Regions from separate parts of the Homo sapiens genome. Here all the other regions are linked to region 3. The links are contacts of gene promoters, found by promoter capture Hi-C in blood cells and fetal thymus (Javierre and others, 2016). All regions are on one chromosome and are shown on one strand. Each heading gives the region's core, a stretch centred on a gene start or on the middle of the fragment in contact. The rest is flanking DNA. Distances are from core to core; before and after follow the strand shown.

Evidence for each region. The method cuts DNA at HindIII sites, captures the fragments that hold promoters and counts their contacts. A CHiCAGO score of 5 or more calls a contact.
Region 1: a contact is called between a fragment that was not itself captured here and the fragment with the promoter of AVPR1A in region 3, in 1 of 17 cell types (M2 macrophages). The highest score is 6.9, in M2 macrophages.
Region 2: a contact is called between a fragment that was not itself captured here and the fragment with the promoter of AVPR1A in region 3, in 2 of 17 cell types (M1 macrophages and M0 macrophages). The highest score is 5.7, in M1 macrophages.

The regions. Positions count from the first base shown.
Region 1 is chr12:64,267,571-64,271,176 of GRCh38, forward strand. It overlaps C12orf56 (chromosome 12 open reading frame 56), which reads right to left. Exons shown (of 13, transcript NM_001170633.2): 12 at 2,966-3,144. Among named protein-coding and RNA genes, the nearest start is that of KICS2, 47 kb to the left of the region's middle. The HindIII fragment of the contact is 5,943 bases long and covers 1-3,606 here.
Region 2 is chr12:64,297,989-64,301,464 of GRCh38, forward strand. The region is part of intron 6 of C12orf56 (chromosome 12 open reading frame 56); the gene reads right to left. Among named protein-coding and RNA genes, the nearest start is that of KICS2, 77 kb to the left of the region's middle. The HindIII fragment of the contact is 156 bases long and covers 1,507-1,662 here.
Region 3 is chr12:63,149,609-63,152,949 of GRCh38, forward strand. AVPR1A (arginine vasopressin receptor 1A) reads right to left here and starts at 1,593. Exons shown (of 2, transcript NM_000706.5): 1 at 259-1,593. The coding sequence starts at 1,228. The HindIII fragment of the contact is 3,248 bases long and covers 1-1,800 here.

The DNA.
Region 1 (3,606 bases), core at 166-2,665, 1.1 Mb after region 3:
TTATCAGGCAATGCGCAGTGAGGTGTTGAAATGAAAGGGTCAAGCTGTGGTGACTACTAGGGCCAAGTCAAGAGGGAAGAGTAGAACTCATCCCCCACGGCCTCAGTAAAAGCCTAGGAAAGGCCAGAGGAAGAGGCAAAAATGAGAAAGACTTCAACCATCCCCTTGGATGACTTAAAAGAATGGTTCTCAACCCTGATGCACATTGGAATCACCTGGAGAGCTTTATCTTTAAAATCTCACAGCCCTGGTACCACGCCAGACAAATGGAAACAGAATTTCTACGTGTGACACCTGGTTATCAGTATTTTTTTAATAGGTTGAGTATCTCTTATCCAAAATGATTGCAATCAGATGTGTTTCGGATTTCAGATTTTTTCAGATTTTGGAGTATCTGCATTATACTTAATGGTTGAGCATCCCTAATATGAACATGTAAAATCTGAAATGCTACAATGAGCATTTACTTTGAGCATCATGTTGGTGTTCAAATGATTTCGGATTTTGGAGCATTGCAAATTTTGGATTTTTGGTTTAGGGATGCTCAACCTGTAGTTGCTCAGATAATTCCAATGCAATGTGAGTTGAAAACACTAGTTTAAAACAAGAATCCACACCTAAATGGCTACCAGTAATGTAATTTAGGGGGTAAGAGTAAGCAAGAGAGAGAGGAGATGGTGGCAAACTAAACAGTACATGATGCACCTAAGGGGGTAGCTGCAGGAGTTCTGCCTAACTGTTGTCATCTCACAAGTGTGACACCACTTTGCCAGTTGTCCTGATTTTCAGATGTTTGTATCTAAGTTTTAAAAATTGAGTTGTATGATACATGCTACAATGTGGATGAACCTTGAAAACATTAAGCTCAGTGAAGTCAGACACAAAAGATCACATATTATACGCTCCATTTATGTAGAATGTCCAGAATAGGCAAATCCATCACAACAGAAAGTAAATTAGTGGTTTCCAGGGGTTAGGAGGAGGAGAATATGTGGTGTGATTGCTTAATGGATACTGAGTTTCTTTTGAGGTGATGAAAATGGTGTGCAATTAGATAGTTATGACAGTTGCAAAATATGGTGAATTTAAAAACTATGGAATTGTATATTTTAAAATGGTAAATTTCATACTATGTGAAATTTACCTTAATATATATATTTTTTTAAGTGAGGAGGTGCAAGAGGGAAGAGATGGGAATTGGGTTGTTTGGACGAGCTCAGAGCCAAACAAATCCCTTTTATGGGAGTCAGAATGGAACACCTCATGGAAGACAAAAAGTCCATGGCTGAGTGTGGTGGCTCACACCTGTAATCCTAGCACTTTAGGAGGCCGAGGCAGGTGAATCACTTGAGGCCAGGAGTTCAAGACTAGCCTGGCCAACATGACAAAACTCCATCTCTACTAAAAATACAAAAATTAGCTAGGCGTGATGGTGCATGCCTGTAGTCCCAACTACTCAGGAGGCTGAAGTGGAAGGGGGCATTGCTTGAGCCCAGGAGGCAGAGATTGTGATAAGCCGAGATCACAGCACTACACTCCAGCCTAGGTGGCAGAGTGAGACCCTGTGTCAAAAAAAAAAAAGTCTATAAATTGGACTGTAGTTTTTTTTTAAAAAAAGACAATCTAAGGCTGTAATTTATGTCTCCACATCCTTTTACGTCTTCATCCAAACAAATGACAAAGCTGTGTCCGCTGTACCCTTTTCATCTTAAGTCAGAGACAACCTGGGTTTTCTCCTTAATGGGTGCTATGCAGGGCTGCACTGCTAAGTGCACTTGGCTTTGGCAGCCTATAAATAGAAATGGAACCCCTGAGGTGCAGGAGAACAGGCTGGCAGATGAAGCCAATGCTGGCTACTGTTCTTTCTTACTGTTCTGTTACTGAGAGGGGTAAGTGAAACAAACAAAACCCCTGATAACCATGTTCATTAATTGTTACTCCTTTATCAATTGCTTCTGTCCAATAACTCAATTGTAAGTCACAATCCATAATTTATTATCCTCTTCAGTGAAGTTTATTTACACTTTTTTTTTTTTGAGGCGGAATATCCCTCCGTTGCCCAGGCTGGAGTGTGTCAGCATGATCTCAGCTCACTGCAACCTCTGCCTCCTGGGTTCAAGTGATTCTCCTGCCTCAGCCTCCCGAATAGCTGGGATTACAGGCGTGCACCACCAGGCTCAGCTTATTTTTGTATTTTTAGTAGAGACGGGGTTTCACCATGTTGCTCAGCCTGGTCTCAAACTCCTGACCTCAAGTAATCTGCCCGGCTCAGCCTCCCACAGTGCTAGGATTACAGGCATGAGCCACCATGCCCAGCCAAGTTTATTACTCTTAATTACTCACAGCAGGTTAAAATTATTACTACTTCCGTGAGATGCAGCTACAATAAAGACAATGAGTGACAAACCGTTCTTCAAAGAGAGTTTGATGTTTCACTAGTCTTTTCTGGCCTGGGAATATACTTCAAATGGCAATGGTTCTTAGAGGTCCCCAAAATCCTACCATTTTCACAGATCAAAGTGAAATATTATTAAAAACAAAAATAGGCCAGGTGCGGTGGCTCACACCTGTAATCCCAGCACTTTGGGAGGCTGAGGTGGGTGGATCATCAGGTTAGGAGTTCGAGATCAGCCTGACCAACATGGTGAAACCCTGTCTCTACTAAAAATACAAAAAAAAAATTAGCCAGGCATGGTGGCGGGCGCCTGTAATCCCAACTACTCAGGAGGCTGAGGCAGGAGAATTGCTCAAATCTGGGAGGCAGAGGTTGCAGTGAGCCAAGATTGCACCACTGTATTCCAGCCTGGGTGACAGAGCAAGACTCCATCTCAAAAAGAACAAACAAACAAAAAAGAATTCCTGATAAATACCTAATCTTCTAAATATTGGACCATGTTGCAGGTTTGCATGAACTCAGAAATGAGTGAAATCTTACTGCAGATTAGATTCAGACATTTTTTCTTACCTGAATTCTTCTCTGTAGTTATTCCTAATATACTCAGCTAGAGTCCTGCTGTGCCGCAGACAGCTCTTGAGGATGTAAAATTGCTGGTACAACAGAACTGCTTGGCAGGGACTTAGCAGCTGAAATGAAGCTGAAAGACCCCTCACCACTTGTTTCACAATACTGGCCACAAAAGTAATCTAGACAAGGAAAATACAGTTACATGTAGGCTGTGTGCCACCCACAAAAGCAACTATTTCAGCTGGAGCTTCAACTACAAATCTAGACTGAGGCCCTCACTACCCTAACACCACTGTTGCAATGTTCCTTATTGAAATGGTATCCAATGTCAAATAAAAAGTATAGGAGGAAGCTGGGCATGGTGGCTCACGCCTGTAATCCCAGCACTTTGGGAGACCAAGGCAGGTGGATCACGAGGTCAGGAGTTCGAGATCAGCCTGACCAACATGGTGGAACCCCGTCTCTACTAAAAATACAAAAATCAGTCAGGCGTGGTGGTGCATGCCTGTAATCCCAGCTACTCAGGAGGCTGAGGCAGGAAAGTCGCTTAATTCGGGAGGCAGAGGTTGCAGTGAGCCGAGATCATGTCACTGCACTCCAGCCTGGGCAACAGAGCAAGATTCCATCTCAAAAAAAAGTAT
Region 2 (3,476 bases), core at 335-2,834, 1.1 Mb after region 3:
TACACTCCCACCAACAGTGTAAAAGCATTCCTATTTCTCCACATCCTCTCCAGCATCTGTTGTTTCCTGACTTTTTAATGATCACCATTCTAACTGGCATGAGATGGTATCTCATTGTGGTTTTGATTTGCATTTCTCTAATGACCAGTGATGATGAGCTTTTTTTCATGTTTGTTGGCTGCATAAATGTCTTCTTTTGAGAAGTGTCTGTTCATATCCTTTGCCCACTTTTTGATGGGGTTGTTTTTTGCTTGTAAATTTGTTTACGTCCTTTGTAGATTCTGGATATTAGCCCTTTGTCAGATGGATAGATTGCAAAAATTTTCTCTCGTTCTGTAGGTTGTCTGTTCACTCTGATGATAGTTTCTTTTGCTGTGCAGAAGCTCTTTAGTTTAATTAGATCCCATTTGTCAATTTTGGCTTTTGTTGCCATTGCTTTTGATGTTTTAGATATGAAGTCTTTGCCCATGCCTGTGTCCTGAATGGTATTGCCTAGGTTTTCTTCTAGGACTTTTATGGTTTTAGGTCTTATGTTTAAGTCTTTAATCCACCTTGAGTTAATTTTTGTATAAGGTGTAAGGAAGGGGTCCAGTTTCAGTTTTCTGCATATGGCTAGCCAGTTTTCCCAGCACCATTTATTAAATAGGGAATCCTTTCCCCATTGCTTGTTTGTGTCAGGTTTGTCAAAGATCAGATGGTTGTAGATGTGTGGTGTTATTTCTGAGGGCTCTGTTCTGTTCCATTGGTCTATATGTCTGTTTTGGTACCAGTACCATGCTCTTTTGGTTACTGTAGCCTTGTAGTATAGTTTGAAGTCAGGTAGTGTGATGCCTCCAGCTTTGTTCTTTATGCTTAGGATTGTCTTGGCTATGCGGGCTCTTTTTTGGTTCCATATGAACTTTAAAGCAGTTCTTTCCAATTCTGTGGAGAAAGTCAATAGGTAGCTTGATGGGGATAGCATTGAATCTATAAATTACTTTGGGCAGTTATGGCCATTTTCACGATATTGATTCTTCCTATCCATGAGCATGAAATGTTTTTCCATTTGTTTGTGTCCTCCCTTATTTCCTTGAGCAGTGGTTTGTAGTTCTCCTTGAAGAGGTCCTTCACATTCCTTGTAAGTTGTATTCCTAGGTATTTTATTCTCTTAGTAGCAATTGTGAATGGGAGTTCACTCATGATTTGGCTCTCTGTTTGTCTGTTATTGGTGTATAGGAATGCTTGTGATTTTTGTGCATTGATTTCGTATCCTGAGACTTTGCTGAAGTTGCTTTGATAAGCTTAAGGAGATTTGGGCTGAGACGGTGAGGTTTTCTAAATATACAATCATGTCATCTGTGAACAGAGACAATTTGACTTCCCCTTTTCCTATCTGAATTATTTCCTTCTCCATTCACTTTGGCCTTTCATTTTTGATAACTGAATTAGAAGATTTGTTTTAGCCCAGGTAAGAATATTATATTAAATAATGGCTGCAGTGTTTTCAAGTATAAAACAGATCATGAAAGCTTCATTTTTAGACATTGGATTAGGTTAATATTTCACAAGAGAACAGATTTGCAATTCAGTATGAATAACTTACAGCACCTGGAATATGCATGCATTGTGTTTTGGCCTGAGGGAGAATACAAAGATAAGTAAGACATATACTTGTCCTAAAGAAGCTTTTAGCATATTAAGATAAATAAGAAAAATGTGCCAATCACTATAGTAAAAGGGAGGATATCTGTGCTAATTCTCGATGGTAGAAACTGTATCATAATCATGCTATATTTCTAATACCTATCACCAAGCCTCACACAGATTAGGCATGAAAACTGTCTGTTAATTGTTAAAGAGGAAGTGCTATGAAAGATGTCATAGAACTACATTGTTCAACTCGGTAGCTACTGCCCACAAGTGTCTATTTAAATTAATGTAAATTTAATAAAATTAACGTTTTACTTTTTTAGTCACTAGTCACATTCAAGTGCTTAATAGCCACATGTGGCTAGTGTCTGCTGTATTGAACAATGCAGATTATAAAACTTCAAAGAAAGTTCTATGGCATGGAATTGACAGAGAAGATCAAAAGGAGGAAGGTACTAAAGTTCCCCATTAGGCATGACAGGAAAGGCAGAAAATGGCATTTGAGCTGAGCCTTGATGAATGGGTATGATTTTTAACAAGAGAAATTAGAAGAAGAGTATTCTAGAGAAAGCAAGCAGCAGGGAGAAAGGAGAGCTAAGGAGAACAAGTATCCAAGTTATCCTACATGGCTCGATCTTGTAGAGGACAGAGGTGAGAGAGAAGATGAAGTGGCGGGTCAGGTCTGTGAATCCTAACCTTACTCTCTTTCTCTCCATTCTTTTTTTGTTCCACAGCCTAGGCCACAGGTATCAGGCCTGTTTTTAAACTGAAGATGCTTAAATGACCTCCAGACTAACACTGGTGCTGATCCCATTAGGAATACACATCAACATCCTTCTTAATCTAACCCTTAAGTGGTACTTCAGTTCTCCTACCTAGACATGCACTTTAAATCCAGTCCCTGATTGTGTCCAGTGTATCTGGGTGGACTTCCCCTTTGAGCACTGTCCTAAGTCCTTTCCCAGTCCTCTCCTAACTGCTGGCTTTACTCTTGACAATCTTTATGTCCTCACATTCCATAAAACCCTGTTCCCACACCCTAAACAAGCAGATCTTCCTGGTGCCAAATGTTTGTGCAGACATCCAGTTGTAATTCACCCACATGCTAAAATATCCTGATATTTCATTTTGCTCACTCTTATGTAGAGATCACTCTCACCTTTGGGCACTGTGCCTTTTCCATGAGCATCTACATCTGGATTCATTTTCCCAGTGCCCACCTTATCCAGATGGTAGCCTGATATGTTCTGGTTCTGTGTTCCCACCCAAATCTCATCTTGAATTGTAATCCCCACTGTCGAGGGAGGGTCCTGGTGGGAGGTGATTGGATCATGCATGCTGTTTTCACGATGGTGAGGGAGTCCTCATGAGATCTGATGGTTTAAAAGTGGCAGTTTCCCCTGCACATTCTCTCTCTCTCTCCTGTTGCCATGTAAGACATGCCTTGCTTCCCCTTCGCCTTCTGTCATGATTGTAAGTTTCCTGAGGCCTCCCAGCCATGTGGAACTGTAAGTCTGTGGCAGGCCAGGTCTTCATAACAGCTGAACAGACAGGCCTCCATAACAACTGTTCCGGTACTGACTGAGTGGTTATGTTAAATATTAAAAGCTGATAGAGCCAGTGTCCTTTCACAAAGGCTGGGATGTAACAAAAACCCACCAAGAGTTTTGCCTAGGCCTTTCCTGGGCCTTGAAGCATGACAAGATAATGAAGGAATTCTTAACAGGACCTGTTTAGAATTAAACAAGTTTTACTGGGGGTCTGAAGAAACTCCTCAGGCCGCCACAAACAAGTTTATTGGCAGTCTGAAGGAACTCCCCAAACCTCCGTGATTTAGCAGGAGGCAA
Region 3 (3,341 bases), core at 343-2,842:
CCAGACATTCTTAATTAGAATGTCTGCATGGGGAATCCAGGAATATGCTTTTTTTTTTTTTAAACAGTGTTCCTCCAAGGTGCGACTCTTATGTACACATAGAAGTTTAAAAACTACTGCCCTAGAAGATACTATGAAGAAAATTGCTAGATTCTCATTTTTTTCTCTCTCTCTCTCTCTCTCTCTCTCTCACACACACACACACACACACACACACACTCCTATCCCTGCACTTTCCTCTATTTTCCCGGCACGTACCGGTCCAGACGGACATGGGATCCCAGACAGACCACATCTGGATGATGAAGAAAGGCGCCCAGCAGACGATGTAAGCCGTCACGATCACAAAAGTCATCTTCACCGTGCGGATCTTGGCCCGGGAAATGGACTTCACGCTGCTGACACAGGGTGCGAGCAGGAACCCCTTTTGGAAGGCCACACCCGCTTGCTCTGCACCCTTGCTCTGGCGCGACGCCGTCTTCCCGCGGACGTTGCACCAGATGTTGTAGCAGATGAAGCCGTAGCAGGTACCCAAGATGACCACGGGCGCCACAAAGATGCCGCCCGTCATCCAGGTCACGTAGGCACGAGAACCCCAGGGCTGGATGAAGGTGGCCCAGCAGTCGCGGGCCTTGGTGACATTGTTCACCTCGATCATGGAGAAGACGAAGTACTGCGGCGTGCTCAGCACGAAGCTCAGCACCCAGGCGGCCGCGATCATGAGGCGCGAGCGGCGCGCGGGCTGTTGCAGAGTCTTGAGCGGGTGGCACACCGCGATGTAGCGGTCGGCTGTCATGACTACCAGCATGTAGGCCGACGCAAACATGCCGAACACCTGCAGGTGCTTCACCACGCGGCACAGCCAGTCGGGGCCGCGGAAGCGGTAGGTGATGTCCCAGCACATTTGCGGCAGCACCTGGAAGAATGCCACGGCCAGGTCGGCCAGGCTGAGGTGTCGGATGAAGAGGTGCATGCGGGACGTCTTGCGCGGCGTCCGGTGCAGAGCCAGCAGTACGCTGCTGTTGCCCAGCACGGCCACCGCGAAAGTCACCGCCAGCACGGCGATCTCCAGTTTGGCCAGCTCCTCGTTGCGCACGTCCCTCGGTGGGCCGTTGCCCTCCCCGAGGGCTTCGGCCTCCCGGCTTGTGTTGCCAGCGCCGGTGGCCAGAGGCCACCATGGGCTGGAGTTGCCCGAGGGCCCCGCGTCGGGACCGGCGGAGAGACGCATGCTGTCCATGCAGCTCCTACTCGGCCCTCTTCGGAGCTCCAGCCCTCGCGGGCCGCTCCCTCCCCGTCTCGGAGGACTTGGGCTCCTCGTCCGAAGCGCAGGGTCTTTGGCGCGCTCGCAGCTTGCCGGGCTCTGCGATCCCTCCAGTGGGCGTCTCCCGGAGCAGCGTCCCGCCTGCCCACTGAGCAGCTCTCAGCAGGGTGAGCTGGCCCCTCTCCCTGCTCTGCCTTTTTTCAACTTCGGCGAGGTCGGGAAGGTGAGCTCCGAGCTTCCGGAAGCACTGGGTTCCCAACTCAAGTATTTATGCGGTGCTTGTTTCCTTGGGACGCGCTCCCTCCCGCCCTATTGCCGGAAGACTGCTGGTTGCCTACTCCCCGCTCCCTGGAGTTTTATTTTTTCCTCTCCCTACGTCGGTGTTTGTCCTCTGCATCACTGTGGAGGGGGTGGAGCTGGGAGACTCGCAGATTCCTCCTCACAGTAGGTGGGATCGTGGCGCTTTCCCGCTTTTCCCTTCCAAAAACTTGGACAACTGGACGAGTCATGCCTTTTCTGGGCTCGTAGCCGTTTCCACAAGCTTCCCTCACTAGCCTTCCTCGCTAGCCTCCTTAACCATGCATTTGACTTCAACAGGCACGCTAAGCGCGGTACCTGGAAACCTCCAGTCCACGCACCGGCGTCCACGCATCTAGCTCCTGCACCTGAACCTGGCTCTCGACCTCACCTCCTCCAGTCCGGGTTTCTTCCTTCTCACCGAGCTCACCCGTGCAGCAGTCTGGCAAATTTTATTCCCCAGGCAAATTTTCCCGGGGCAAACATTTCTCCCCGCTCGTGACTTAAAGAGCTATCTCTTCCTAGTAACGTCTTTGATGCATGCTATTTATTACCCTATGTTTGCGACGGGAAGAACGCACTCATCACTTTGCAGCCCCAGTGGCTGCTGTGCCTGTATTCACAGCGGGGTTTGGGGGGAGTGTCTCCTGGTTTTCTCTATGGAGACTAGGGACTTAAGGAGTTTTCTCTAGATTCCTGGGGTTTTCTGCGGGAAAAGCCTGATTCCCACAGCGGGGATGGCGGAAATTTGGCCGCAGTGGTCCGTGGGGACCGTCTGGTTACTACTGAGTCGTGGGGACATCTTTTTGGGTGGACAAAGAGCAGCTGCCGGACAGCGGCCATCCAGGCAGTGCTGTCCAGGGCAAGGGACAGAAAACCCGCCCGGCTCCTGTGCTCAGGAGTAAGAAAGAGGCAATCTCAAAGAGAGGAAAGAGGCCCTGGGAAGGAGGGGAAACAACCACCTACCTAGTAATCCGTTACTCTGAACAGCTGGAGCCCCTCTGCAGGGCGGGAGGGAGGCAGAAATGCGATCTCCCTCAGCTCTGTTTTAACGTTGGTGAAGATATGCCTCGACGGACAGCAAGGGGGAGCTGTTTTCAGGCAATTTTACAAGGAAGAAAGGAAGCCGTTTCTGCAGTTATCTGCTGTGTAGATGCAGGAGCATGACTTTGTTGGTCAGAACGTTTCAGTATTGTGGCCGTGGTATAAATTTAATTGCCTCAGAAAAATATCACCCTCTGTGAAACGTAGGCAAAAAATGCAAAAGATTTTATTCATTGCAGTTCTCAGTAATAATTCCACTTTACTATCCAGTCCGTTCATGCAGAGTTACCAAGGTTGTCACGTTGAGATGCTGGACTTGAAATCTGGAGTCCTGCTTCCTGTGGCTAGATAATCCTGGGTCTGTGCGTCTTATAAATGGAAATGAAAGGACCTGCCTTTCCTGTTGTTGAGGTCATCGGGAAGATCAAGTAAGACAATGTTCTGTATGGGGGAAATGCTCTAAAAACTGAAAGCTGTGTTGTGTTGGTTCATTTTCTCCAAGATATCCAGGAGGCAGAAGATTGAAATGGTTCAGGGATGGAAGGTAATAGGTAAAAGGTTTCCAGACCACCTGTCTGGAAAAAATCCTTCAAGCAATTAGGTAATAGTCACTGACTCAGAGAATTCACTTTCTTTTAAGTCACAAATTACACTATTAGTGCTCCTGATGAGAAAGAATGTTGACTGAACCTAGTGTCTGGGTATTGCAAAAGTGGTTTGTTGGCCACAGCCTAGTAAT